3 separate regions of the Homo sapiens genome follow, and all the other regions are linked to region 2. Evidence: promoter capture Hi-C in 16 types of primary human blood cells and fetal thymus (Javierre and others, 2016). All regions are on one chromosome and are shown on one strand. Each heading gives the region's core, a stretch centred on a gene start or on the middle of the fragment in contact. The rest is flanking DNA. Distances are from core to core; before and after follow the strand shown. Region 1 overlaps LOC124906112 (a long non-coding RNA gene). Region 2 holds the start of KCTD18 (potassium channel tetramerization domain containing 18). Region 3 overlaps TYW5 (tRNA-yW synthesizing protein 5).

The links. Contacts are between HindIII fragments. The CHiCAGO score rates a contact against its expected background, and 5 or more counts as called.
Region 1: a fragment that was not itself captured here is called in contact with the fragment with the promoter of KCTD18 in region 2 in 9 of 17 cell types (endothelial precursors, total CD4 T cells, total CD8 T cells and 6 more); the score reaches 9.4 in endothelial precursors.
Region 3: a contact is called between a fragment that was not itself captured here and the fragment with the promoter of KCTD18 in region 2, in 1 of 17 cell types (monocytes). The highest score is 5.1, in monocytes.

What each region holds. Positions count from the first base shown.
Region 1 is chr2:199,968,155-199,972,762 of GRCh38, forward strand. LOC124906112 (a long non-coding RNA gene) reads right to left here. Exons shown (of 3, transcript XR_007088012.1): 3 at 2,443-3,890. Among named protein-coding and RNA genes, the nearest start is that of MAIP1, 15 kb to the left of the region's middle. The HindIII fragment of the contact is 1,027 bases long and covers 1,678-2,704 here.
Region 2 is chr2:200,507,891-200,512,555 of GRCh38, forward strand. It overlaps KCTD18 (potassium channel tetramerization domain containing 18), which reads right to left and starts at 2,178. Exons shown (of 7, transcript NM_152387.4): 1 at 1,738-2,178. RefSeq lists a silencer at 1,951-2,410. The HindIII fragment of the contact is 2,465 bases long and covers 180-2,644 here.
Region 3 is chr2:199,935,265-199,939,779 of GRCh38, forward strand. It overlaps TYW5 (tRNA-yW synthesizing protein 5), which reads right to left. Exons shown (of 8, transcript NM_001039693.3): 5 at 3,669-3,806; 6 at 1,141-1,228; 7 at 667-783. Among named protein-coding and RNA genes, the nearest start is that of TYW5, 18 kb to the right of the region's middle. The HindIII fragment of the contact is 799 bases long and covers 1,244-2,042 here.

The sequences.
Region 1 (4,608 bases), core at 941-3,440, 540 kb before region 2:
GAAAGAAGCCATTATAGTCAAACAAAAATATATGCTAAAGAATAGCATCTCGGGTTACCTACCAACTGGGGCTAAGAAGGGACTATGCAATGAATGACATGACAATTTTTTACCCTGGCATATGGACTAAACAAAATGGCCTTTCATTAATTGATAAAAGAGGAAGTGTCCCTATGAAGGTGTTTAGGGGACAAAAGGCAAAGTTTGATCATGAATTTGTCATTGTCTACTGGACCTCTAATTCATAGTCCTTGGACTCAACTTGGATTGAATTGGAGGCTGAATGGACTTATTCCTTTGTTCATTCCCTATGTAGAACCCCCTTATATATCCAAGAAATAAAATGACTATGAAAGACAAAGAAACAGGAAAAAAAAAAAGTCCTAAGCCAAGACTCTGTACTAGTAGATGCACTAAAGCAAAACAAGCACACGCTTGAAGAATAATGAAATTAATGGCCAAAATATTGACAATGCCATCTACAAAGAACTATTTTGATAGGAATCCTCATTTAACAAACTCAACAATACATGCTCACTGAGAGTCAGAGTACAGATCAATATTGAGACAAATATACTTGGAACAAATCCAAAGGATAAATGAAATCTGGACACAAAGGGACCTGATGAGGACACCTTTATTTATTTTTAAGTTAGAGTCATCAAAATAACCTTGGTGGAACCTCATAGTTGTCAAAATATGAGACCACCACTGAAAATCAATATAAAACCCCAAATTTGAATTGATTTATTACCTTAGTAAGGGAGGAGTCTTGTCAAGCAGAGCAAACCATTGATCTTACAGGGATTTTTGAGGAAGAGTGTGTTGTGTTAGTGAAAGGTGGGAGTGGAATTATGTCAGCTTTATTTCAGATGTGTTAGTTTTCATGTCTACATGTTCCATTTGATTCTTTCTCATAGCTTCTCTATGTTCATGTTTTCCTTTAACTTGCTGGGCATAGTTATAACAGCTTTTTGTTTGTTTGTTTGTTTGTTTTGAGACAGGGTTTCATTCTGTTGCCTAGGCTGTAGTGCAGTGGTGTGATCTTGGCTCACTGCAACCTCTGCTTCCCAGGCTCAAGTGATCCTCCGACCTCAGCCTCCCAAGTAGCTGGGACTAAGGTGCATGCCACCATGTCCAGCTAATTATTGTAGATTTTGTAGAGATGGGGTCTCCTTATATTGCCCAGGCTGGCCTCAAACTTCTAGCTAAAGTGATCTGCCTGCCTCTGCCTCCCAAAGTGCTGGGATTACAGGTGTGAGTCACTCTGCCTGGCCCAACAGTTGTTTTAAAGTTGTCTTTCTTTAAAATCTCTTTCTAGTAAGTGATTTTTCTTTTGGTTATGGGCCACATTTTCCTGCTTTTGGCTGGTCTAGTAATTTTTAAAAAATAAATAGGGACAAGTTCTCACTATTTTGCCCAGACTGGTCTTGAACTCTTGGACCGAGCAATCCTCCTGCCTTGGCCTCCCAAAGTGCTGGGATTACAGGTGTGAGCCACCAGGCCTGGCCTGGTCTAGTAATTTTTTATTGGACACTGAATTTATGAATTTTCTGTCATTGAATATCTGGGTATCATTGGGTAGTATTTGCCTTGAGAAGAATGTTGAACTGTGTTCTCTTAGGTAGCCAGTTAGGTTATTTGGGGTTCAGGTTGATTTTTTTGAGGCTATTGTTAAGCTTTGTTAGGGTTTATCTAGACTAGTTTTTACTCTACCAAGAGTGTAGCCCCATTTGTATGGAGTAATTTATGGGGTCTCTACTGGATGCCCTGAGTTATCAAACAGGACAGCACTCTCCATGCTGGCTTAGGGAACCCAAATGAATTCCCAGCACTACAGGCTCTCTGAGAACTGTTCACTTCACAGCTTCTAGTCACTCTTTGCTTGACTTTATAGAGTCTCACTCTATAGCTTTTGTTCATAGCTTAGAGTTCACTAAAAACTCAAGGAAATTACTATACAAACTTCTGAAGTTTTGTTCCGCATAGCTTGCTCCTGTCTGAACATTTGCCTTACACCTCTGGCCTCTTCAGACTCCATGGCCTTCCATGTCTGTCTCCTCAATTCAGCAAGTTTATCATGTTTTGCTGGGGATTTTTTTCCCTGGCTGGGTGGTCTAGAAAGTGCCCCACACAGAAATCTGGGTTATCATAGGATCTGCCTTGTTCGTTTCTCTTCTTTCATAGATAAAAATACTGTGCTTCCTACTGTCCAGTGTTTGAGCACAGTAGTTTCATGTAATCTGCTGAGTTGTCTAGTGTTTAAGGCATCAGGATAAATGTTTATTATGGCCAAAGCAGAACTTATTTTCTTATTTTTAAATTTTTTTATTTTTAATTTTTGTGGGTACATAGTAGGGTTATATATTTATGGGGTGCACGTACATGGGATGTTTTGAAATAAGTATGCAATGTGTAATAATCACATCATGGAGAATGGGGTACCCATCCCCTCAAGCATTTATTCTTTGTGTTACAAACAATCCAATCATGTGCTTTTTGTTATTTAAAATGTACAATTATTATTGACTATAGTCACCCTGTTGTGCTATCAAATAGTAACTCTTATTAATTCTTTCCAACTAGTTTTTTTGTACTCATTAACCATCCCCATCCCCACTCCCCCACCCCACCTCCATTTCCCTTCCCAGCCTCTGGTAACCATTCTTCTTCTCTCTCTGAGAACTTGACATGTTTTTAAATAAGCTTTCTAAATGTGTTCTGTGTTGGTGTGAGGAACACCACACAGAGGAACAAACAGAGGAAGAAAAGAGTTTATATCATGTTCACTGGAGTTGTCTGACTTTTGAAATATGAAGCTGTCACTGTTGGCTTTCACCGAAGTGGCTATATCATCAATACAGGCTCCCTGATCAGAAAACCTGTAGATTCTCTTAAAATCAAGAACTAGTTAGATGTGTTCTACTTTGACCCAAATGAACTTGGCTTGCCAAGTATGGGACACACAGTGACACAGGAAGAAGTTAGAAAGGACTACTTCTGGGTGGCTTACCACTCTTTTCCCAGGACTGAGCATAGCCACTAAGACAATAAATTCTCAAAAATATTTGCAAACTAACAGGTGATGCTTATTTTTAGTTGGCTAGGCTCCTCAGACTATTCTCCATTAAGACTAATTTTCTCTCCTAGAAGAATAGCTATGAGCTACAAAATAACGCACTTAACTCCTGAATGTCAGCATTGGCTAGATCAGGAAAATGTTTTTAAAAACTCCTGAATGTTTTTAAAAAATTATCTGAATTAAATTTTTTCCCTAACTTTTCATTAGAAAAAATTTCAAACATACTGAAAAGTTGAAAGAAGGGTATTGTATTAGAGTTCCCCAGAGAAACAAAACTTATATTTATCTATCTCATATCTATGGAGAGAGAGAGAAACATAGATAACTATGGAAACATATATAGAGAAATTTAACATTCGTATAGTGGTTTAAATGTTAATCTCATCAAAAACTACTTTCACAGAAACATCTAGAATAGTGTTTGACCAAATATTTTCATTGAAAGCATTTGAAAGTAAGCTTCAGACATCATGTATTAATATTTCAACCCTAATATTTCAATATGTGTTTCCAAAGGATAAGGACACTATCCTATATAACCACATGTACATTAGCAATAATTCCATAGTATCAGCTAATACTTAAATTTAAAATTTCACCAGTTGTCTTTAAAATGACTTTTTAATTCAAGATCCAGTCAAGGTTTACCCGTTGCATTTGGTTATGTCTCTTTAGTCCTTGTTTCAAAATTTAGAATATCCCCATCCTCATTTATGGCACTGCAATTTGGAGAAGTCTAGAATGGTAGACACACAGCATGTCCCATATCTTGAATGTGCTTGTTTTTCTATGGCATCATTTCTGTAAGCTGGAAGTTAGGGCGAAAGAGTTGATTAGATTCAGGTGAAACATTTTTGGCAAGAATATATAAGTGATTTGCGGACCTCCTATTATATAACGTCAGGCAGTACCTAATTTCTTATTGTTCCATTGTTTAGAGTGGTGATTATGAGAACCCTCAGTTGTAAAAGTCATTTTTTTCTCTTTATAGTTAATAAGTAATCTGTGAGATGATACTTTGATACCTGGTAAATATTCTGCTCACAAGATGCCCACATACTAACCTCTGGAACACGTGAACATGTGTTCCAGGGGTTAGTTGGCAAAATAGGACTTTGCAGGTATGATTAAATTCAGGATTTTGTGATGGGAGGTTATGCTGGATTATGTGGGTGGACCCAGTGTTATCACAGATGTCCTTATAAAAGGGAGGCAGGCGGGTCAGCGTCAGAGAGAAGGACATGTGATGATGGAAGCAGAGGTTGGAACTATGAGGGGCCATGACAGCCATAGAATGTGGACAGCATCTAGAGTCAAGAAATGGCAAGAAACAGATTCTCCCCAGAGCCTCTAGAAGGAACGCAGCCACACTGACCCATTTTAGACATTTGATCTCCAGAACTGCAAAATAATAAATCTGTGTTGTTTTAAGCCACTACATTGTGGTAGTTTGTTACATAAGCAACAAGAAATTAATACAGAAGATGATCCTTATATGAATCAGTGTTACCTTATAATTTGCCAAA
Region 2 (4,665 bases), core at 928-3,427:
CTTGAACTCCTGGGCTCAAGCAATCCTCCTGTCTTGGCCTTCCGAAGTGCTGAGTATACAGGCATGAGCCACCACGCCCAGCCTGAGATCAGAATTCTATGTAGACCAGTAGCCAGGCCAGTCTAGAACTACAAATAACACCTCCAAATCATCCAGCTTCTTCACTGTGAAATGGATGAAGCTTTAGGGAAGTTTTGGGGGGTTTTTGTTTGTTTGCTTGTTTGTTTTTTGAGATGGAGTCTCGCTCTGTAGCCCAGGGTGGAGTACAGTGGCGCCATCTCGGCTCACTCCCGGGTTCAAGCAATTCTCCTGCCTCAGCCTCCTGAGTAGCTGGGACCACAGGTATACACCATCATGCCGGGCTAATTCTTGTAATTTTAGTAGAGACGGCGTTTCACCATATTGGGCAGTCTGGTCTCCAACTCCTGACCTCAGGTGATCCACCCACCTCGGCCTCCCAAAGTGCTGAGATTACAGGCGTGAGCCACTGCACCAGGCCCAGGGAAGGTTTAAGGGTTGGATTTTTTTAATCCATTCTGGAGATCACAGAACCACAAGTGACACTGTGGTGTTTTCCCACCTAAAACAATACTGTGATGAAAAAGGTACTCCCAATTATTGAGAATCTGCAGTATCCACACATTTCATAGCAAGTTGAAAATGGCTGCCAAAAGGCTCAACTACATCCATGTCAATTCACTTTTACTCAGTGAACAACTAAGATCGTTTTGTAGATGCCAGCTAGTCTCCAATAAAATGGAAGGAGACCATTAAAATCTGAGGAAGACCATGTGTGTAGAATACGGTCAGCAACAGAAACCATTATGGGCCAAAGGTCCAGCCTTCCAAAACCACTTATGGATGTGACATCTCGCACTGCCTAGAAGTCCTGGGAGCAGCACTCCAAAGATCCATGTGTGAGAGCCACCTCTGAGGCATGGGATGGAACTTGTTCCCTCTGCCTCATTACTGGCTCCCTGGAATCCTATCTATTCTTCAAGGCCTTCAGCAAACCTAATTTCTTGCATGACCGTCCCACGTATCCTTCTGCCCCCCAAGTTAGAATCCTTGCACAATTCTACAAATATACTGTGTGTCTGTCCACTTTTTACCCCACTTGTTTAATCCCTACTTTTTGGTCTGTAGGCCAAGGAAGCCAGGGCCTGTGTCACTCTTAATAACTCCCATTTACTGAATGCTTATTATGTGCCAGCCATTGTAAGAGACACTTGACACACTTTACCTAATTCACACAAAAACTCTATTGGATGGGAATTACTGTCCCTGTTGACAGATGAGGCCATTGGGGTAAAAAAAAAGAGTGATGTGTACAGGGGCCACACAAGGACTGACTGCTAGTAGGTTGTGGAGCCAGCCCCAATCCAGAACGGCAGGACGAACCCCAAGTTCTTCCTGCTTCACCCCACACCGCCTCCTCCAGCACTGTTTCACCCCTATGGATCCTGACCCAGCCCTTTCACTCTCTAAGCATCTGTCCATCTCAAGACTTGGCTACGATAACACAGCAGCACCCCGATCCCGAGGATTTAAGAGCTACTCCTCCTACCCCAACCCCAGGCAGTCTCTCCTAAGGATAGGAACATCATCATTCCAAGGCCACACCAGGGGGGCACTCCGCAGGCCCCATCCTCAAAAGCACCCAGTTAGGCTCCCTGCTATGTGGAAAGTGTCCAGCCCTCGGGGACAATGTCCCCCAGAGTGCATTCCTATGATCACCTGCATCAAAACCATCAGGGACGCTTGGGAAAACGAAGACACTCCGGCCACAGCACACAGTTCCTCAGAAAGTCTGAGGAGGGGTCGGGATCTGCCCGCGAACCCCACTTTGAAAAACATCGCTCAAGGGGCTCACACTCCTCTTCCGAAGCGGGAAGAGCCGGGAGGAGCTGGGGAGCCAGAAAGCCCCGCCACGGTCTTCCGCGGCCTGGAGACCCCAAATCGGCCCGAAGCCCGAGCCTGCAGCCCGGGGCGCGCGCGTTACCAGCGCGGCCCGTGCCCTTCCTCAGGGCGCCCCGCCGCCTTCCGGGCCCGCGGCCCATCCCGCGCCCGGCTCTTCCGCACCGGGGGGGTGGGGCGGGTCGGCAGCTTCCCAGACTGACCTGCGGCCCGCCAGACCCTCGGCGCGGCCGCCGGACGCCGCGGGGCGGACGCGGAAGTGAACGCCTTCTCAGCTGCTCGGCAACTCGGGAGCAGAGCGGCCCCAGCGGCGCCCCCGTGCGGCCCGGCTCTGAGGCAGCGGCTCAGGGAGGGAGGGAGGCCACGTCCCGGGCACGCCACGCCACGCCACGCCCCGCCCCCAGATTCGTCTCGCCCCAGTGGGCCGCCTCGGAGTCGGGTGGGTCTTCCATCCCGGAGGTAAGGGAAACACACGGTAGAGAAGGCCAGGGCTGAACCCCAAGGGACGGTCTTGTGTGTTCAGAGGCTGGTTTTACAGGTGAAGAGAAGAAACAGCCGCAGAAGTTGCGATTGTCCAAGGTCACTTAATAAGTGGCAAGAATTAGGATGTTAAGTGTTCTCACCCCCAGGTCAGTGCCCATCCCTCCAAACAGGGCTGCTCAGTGCCAACGTGTGTTAATATATTGCACTTGGATAAGTCTATCTGGATAGTGTCTGCAGCTTACAAAGCTTTTTCACACACAGCATTCTTGTTTAGTCTGTGTGACAGTGATATAAAGGGTGATATTTATTTCCCATTATAGCAAGGAAAATTGAGGCGAGAGCAAACATTTATTCAACACTTTTGTACACCTGACACTGTGCTAAGTGCTTTGCATGCACTACTTAATTTCCTGTTAACGATAACCCTAAAACAGTTCTTCCAGTTTCTAGCACCATCTTACCTTGTGCAAGGTACTGTGCTAGATATTTCAAGAGAAATATAACAGTCCTGTTTTCAAGGTGCTTCCCCAAAATCAAAAATATTTGGTTCCAAATTTCCCTGACTGGCTCTTAGAAGAGAATAAGCCAAAGAGAGGTAAGTCAACCTATCCCCTTAGATATTAACAGTCTTAGGAGAGAGGGAAGGTTTGTTCAACCTGTAATTATTAAGCACTAGCTATGGAGCAAGCACTGAGAGTAAAGGACTGGAAGAGACAAATAATGGGCGTTCAACCTTACTTTCCAGTACAACATGCAGAAAACTTGTTCTGTAAATATTTTAGGCTTTGTGGGCCATGCACAACTACTCAACTCAGCAGTTGTAGTCTAAAAGAAGGCATAGGCAAAACCTGAACAAATGAGCATTGCTAGTTCCAACTTTATGGACACTGAAATTCCAATTTCACATAATTTTCATGTGTCAAAAAATATTCTTTTAAAAATGCAGCTTTTTCAAACACTTAAATATGTACAAGCCATTCTTAGATCATGGGCCAGACAAAAACAAATGGTGGTCCATGGGCCATAGTTTGCCTGCCCTTGTTCAAGTGGGAGAAACAGACACTAAGCAAAGTGGTGACAGAGAGTGATAACTAGGTGCGAGGAAATGAGTGGACATTTAAGTTGAGGGCTAGGAGTCAGAATGAGTCCACCTTCTGCAGAGATGGAGGAAGGGTATTTTAGGAAGAAGGGAGAGCAAGTCGGAAGCCCCTCAGGCAGGAAAGGACTCAGCAATTTGTAGGAAGAGAAAGGCCACTAGTATGTCTGAGCCTTGGTGGGCATCAGGACAAAGGGGAAGATGAGATGGGATGAGGTTGAAGAGAGAGGCAAGAGCCCAGACTCTAAAGTATTGTGTGGCCATGGTAGAAATTTAATTTGACTGTAAGCATAATGAGAAGCTATTGAAAGGTTTTAAGCAGGGAAGTGACACAATTGATTTACTATTAAAAAAAAATAATCACTGCAGCTACTGAGATGAGAATGGATTGGAAAGGTGTGAGATGGAAGTAGATGACTATTGCAATAATCCAGGGGAGAAATGTCTTAGTTCCTCCTTGAGTAGTGTTGGCAATAAAGAGAAGTGGATGGATGCAAGAGGGGTACTCAGGAGATAGACATGACATAAAATTTGTTGGTGGATCAAATACAATGTGTTAATATGGATCCCCTGAGAAGCAAACAATATTATCAGATTAGACATGTGAGAGATTTATTGAAGGGAACACCTGTGAGGTAATAACAGGGAAGCATCTGAGGGGAATTAGGAAAGACATTAGACAGTTTCAACCCTTGTGGAGAACAGGAAAGGAAAAGTAGGAAAAGTTGTAGATATGATACAGTTCTGAGAAAGTTTCAGCACAGCCAGTGGAAAGCCTTCAAGCCAAAGTCCCCCATATCAGAAGAGTTCTGTGTCTCCCAGGAATGGGCCTGCCTTAAATCCCTCTGCTCAGTCACTGGCTGGGAGCAGTCAGTGGGCAGTGCAGCCTGGTGATAAATTTCAAAGGACAGCAGCTGAGGCATCAGTCAACAATGCTCCCTGCAATTGGAGATCTGAGAAGTGCATTTTCATGGCTGCAATATATGGGATTTAAGGGAAAGGGAAAAATGTAGGAATATCTCTAAATTGTTAATTTGAACAATGGGATAATAGTGAGTTTACCGAGTCAGTGAATTATGGGAGAGGAATAGGTTTGAGGGAAGAAATCAGAAGCTGTGTTTTGGACTACTAAGATTCAGATGCTTTTCAGACATTCAGGTAGAGAGATC
Region 3 (4,515 bases), core at 393-2,892, 570 kb before region 2:
GATGTCACTTAGTAAAATAGAGTATAATATTATTTTTATAGGTTGCCCTTGAAAGCAAGACTGTTAATTTAGTTTATTCAGAGACAGGGTCTTACTCTGTTGCTCACAGTGGAGTACAGTGATTCCATGATGCCATGGCATCAACCTCCTCAACCTCAACCTCAACCTCGTGGGCCCAAGAGATCCTTCTGCCTCAGCCTCCCGAGCAGCTGGGACGTACAGATGCACACCACCATGCCTGACTAAATTTATTTATTTATTTTTGTCGAGACGGGGTCTCGCTATGTTGCCCATGCTGGTCTTGCACTTTTGGCCTCAAGCAATCCTCCCACCTTGGCCTCCCAAAGTTCAAGTTGGGAGGATTGCTTGAGGCCAAAAGTGCAAGACCTGTTAACTTATAGGCCAAAACTACAAGGGCTGTTAACTTATAATAAGTTTGCCTAGGCCTGCTTTAAACACACACACACACACACACACACACACACACACACACACACACACATACACACACACGCACACACAGAGTTTTGTCTAAAAATCATCTTGTATAGGACCGGATACATATAACAAATATATATTTGTACTAAAAAAAAAAAATCACATGAAGGATGAGTGACAGAGTACACATTTTATAAATAGCACATTAGTGAGGTCTAGAAATCTTACCAGGAATGAATAATACATCACCAGCTTCAAGGGAACATTCATATCTTCTAGCCTTGGAAAAAAGTGGATATTTAGCCAAGTCTGGGTTATCTATATTCAGTACTTCTGATTTAGTACCTAAAAAGTTCCAAAAAGGGATAATATAGATTCAGCAAAGTTAGCATTTTAAAAAAAGTAATCACAAATATAAATTTGAAAATTTATTCTTTTCTATCCAGTTACTTACTGTACCAACACTGTGAGAATTACTATGCTACTGACACCTAAGACAATTTTCAATGACTCACTCTTTAATTCTGATGACTGATACCCATGTAATAAGATAATTTCAAATTTGAACCTGTTATTACATATATACACAAATACAATTAGGATTAAGTACTGAAGTGTTCTTTTCCTATAAGAATCAAGAGATTTCTCAAAAAGAGTAACTGAATAGACTTTTGAAATATAAACTTAAAAAAAATCCCATACCTTTTAAATATAAATACTGGGCATCTCGAGGACTGAAGAGTACAACACGCTTTTTTCCTGTCACTTGTATTAACAAATTATCCATTACCTGAAGACCAATAAAAGCTTATGGGTAATCATTATCTAAAATTCAAATAAATAGAACCAATGGCATGCTAAACTTTAACTGCAAACCCGATCCTTTAATGAGACTTGACTTACTTAAGACTCTTACAGTTACCTAACAATAAAAACATTTGTATTCCATATACAACTGGGCCTTCAAGACATTTCTGCAGTACTGCCCTAAAATGGGAAGACTTGGCAAATTAGAAAATGTGGAGTCAGAAAACGATTTGCCTTTGCCTCACCATTAACTGACAGCATAGTTAAGCCTATTTAAGGCTCCCCTTGGTTAATATTTACTATCTGTTAAGGAATGCTATAAGCCCAAAATTAGACAACAGAGTAAAAGCACTTAGAAAAATCAGATGCTAGGAAAATACAAGGTACTGTTGCAACTGCTGCTACACTCTTAATATATGTTCAACCATAATTTCATTATAGGTATCTTGATTTTCAAATTATTTCTATAGGAATATAATCTCACAGATTTTCTTTTTTTTTCCTTTTCTGCAAACAGTATGGTGATTTATGACAGATTTTCTTAATATATATTTATTATTGGAGCAATCGTTTCCCATGAATGTAATGGTATACTTTCTTGGTATAGATTGTGAAAAAATGTTAAAGGCAGAGTCACATAATTCTCAGCTAAGGATTTAAGATAAGCACTAAGCAAGATATATTCATGATTTTTTACTTCTACCTAAGCATTCTTCCTTTTAGTACTAACCCTTTACTCATGTAAACCATAACTATACAATTCAAACTAGCGTTCCTCTGACTTAATTTATAATAAAAGCTTTATATATTACATTCTATTATAATTCAAGGTAAAGGGGATACTACTCAAAATTTAAAACATAATCATAGAGGCCAGGCATGGTGGCTCATGCCTGTAATCCTAGTACTTTGGGAGGTCGAGGTGGGCGGATTACTTGAAGCCAGGAGTTTGAGACCAGCCTGGCCAACGTCGCAAAACCCCATGTATACTAAAAATAAAAAAAAAAAAATTAGCCGGGTGTGGTTGTGCATGCCTGTAATCCTAGCTATCTGGGTAGCTGAGATACGAGAATCACTTGAATCTGGGAGGGACTGGTTGCAGTGAGCCAGGATCGTGCCACTGCACTCCAGCCTGGGTGAAAGAGCAAGACTCTGTCTCAAAAAACAACAACAACAATCATCATCATCATCATCATAGAATATAGTTAAAATGTATTACCACATGATTTTCTCACCATGTTATTCATATAAAACTGTAAAATATGCTAAGAGTTCATGTCTATTTCATAATTACAGATTTACTGACTATGGTAAAATCCTCCCAAGAGGGTCTCAACTGAATTACAAAACACATGTATAAAATGTTATACTGTGATTTAGAACTTAAAAATTTTTTTTTCTTTGGAAACTTGTTAGATATTCCTTTACCTTCCTTAAGTTTCTCTACTTCCCAACACCAAACCATATACCATACTAGTATTTTTAATGTTTTTAAAACGCTTATAGATGTGTACATAAATTTAAGCAAACAAAATAACATCATAAATAATCAAGATCAATTTTTTTTTTTTTTGAGACAGAGTCTCGTTCTGTCGCCCAGGCTGGAGTGCAACGGTGCGATCTCGGCTCACTGCAAGCTCTGCCTCCTGGATTCACGCCATTCTCCTGCCTAAGCCTCTGGAGTAGCTGGGACTACAGGCACCCGCCACCATGCCCAGCTAATTTTTTGTATTTTTAGTAGGTACGGGGTTTCACCGTGTTAGCCAGGATGGTCTCGATCTCCTGACCTCATGATCCGCCCGCCTCGGCCTCCCAAAGTGCTGGGATTACAGGTGTGAGCCACCGCGCCCAGCAGATCAAGATCAATATTGTACACATTTTTGCTGCCCTACAAATACAGCAGATATTTGACATTCTCAAGGCATATATATCCTAAGATCTTCAGATATCCCCAAATTCTTACAATTGGTAATGACTCAACAAGCTTCAGCCTTTTTCCTGAATAACATAACTTTGCATGACCCAGAGAGTTATGGATCTCTGGGTAGCCAGAGTCATGTGTATCATTTATACCTCCTTATACTAAAGGCTTATCACTTTTTCCAATACAATTTCCCCCATTATCTGGTGGCCATTTTTCACATGGAAAAAAAAATCACTTCACAAAACTTGGTATATATATGATGATGAATCAAGAATAGGACCACAGGGAAATACAAATGTGAGGAACCAACTAGGCTTTGCCATTAGCAAAATAATTCATTCCTGTATCACTGCTATGCACAGCACCTATTTTCAAAAGTCATGTTTCAGCAAATTACACAGATGTTTAGGGTAACCTATAGGAAGTTGAAACTGTGACTGTTAAATCTATAATGCTAAAGATCTATTGTAGCTTTAAATTTCTCATTTATGTAGCATACATCATAATGAGTCCATAGTTGTAATCCTGGTGAACTAATTCGAAAAACACTGGAAAAGAACTGTTCCTCTTTGAAGAATTCTGGAAACTTAATATCTCCTTTCAACAAAGGAAACTGCTTTCTGATATCTGCAACATCCTGCATTTACAGAAACATAAAAAGAAAAAATTAGATTAGACCCTATGATATTAAGGAAGACTGGGGCAAAACTTTGTTCACTGCTTTAAAATACTATGATGTGACCATGTGCCAATACATGATCTCTCTCTCTCTATCTTTCTCTCTCTCTCTCCCCCAAGTAGCTGAGATTATAGGCACCTCCCACCACGCCCAGCTAATTTTTGTATTTTTAGTGGAGACGGGATTCCCCATGTTGGCCAGGCTGGTCTTGAACTCCTGACCTCAGGTGATCCACCCACCTCAGCCTCCCAAAGTGCTGGGATTACAGGCATGGGGCCACCTTGCCTGGCCGATACATGATCTTTCAAATGAAGAAATACCAGGCTGTGTAACAAGACTGCAGATTTTATAGTATCACTACTGTTAAGCTCAATATGCTTCATTAATAGAAAGGTTCTTTCTACTTTAAGCAAATTACACAAATGTCATCCACTCTAATATTCAGGAGTCAACACCTTGAACTAACATTACTAGCTATCACCTACATAAAACCTGTGAATTCTACTGAGGGAGGGGACTAAAAGAGAGGGTAAACAACTAAATGGTGACATAAATGGAAAAAATAATCTTATTTGATCATTTTAGGGACTACTCTTTAATATCACAGCCATACTAATTTGACTCTGAATACATGTCAAAACTTATACAATGAACTATTCAGGATTCT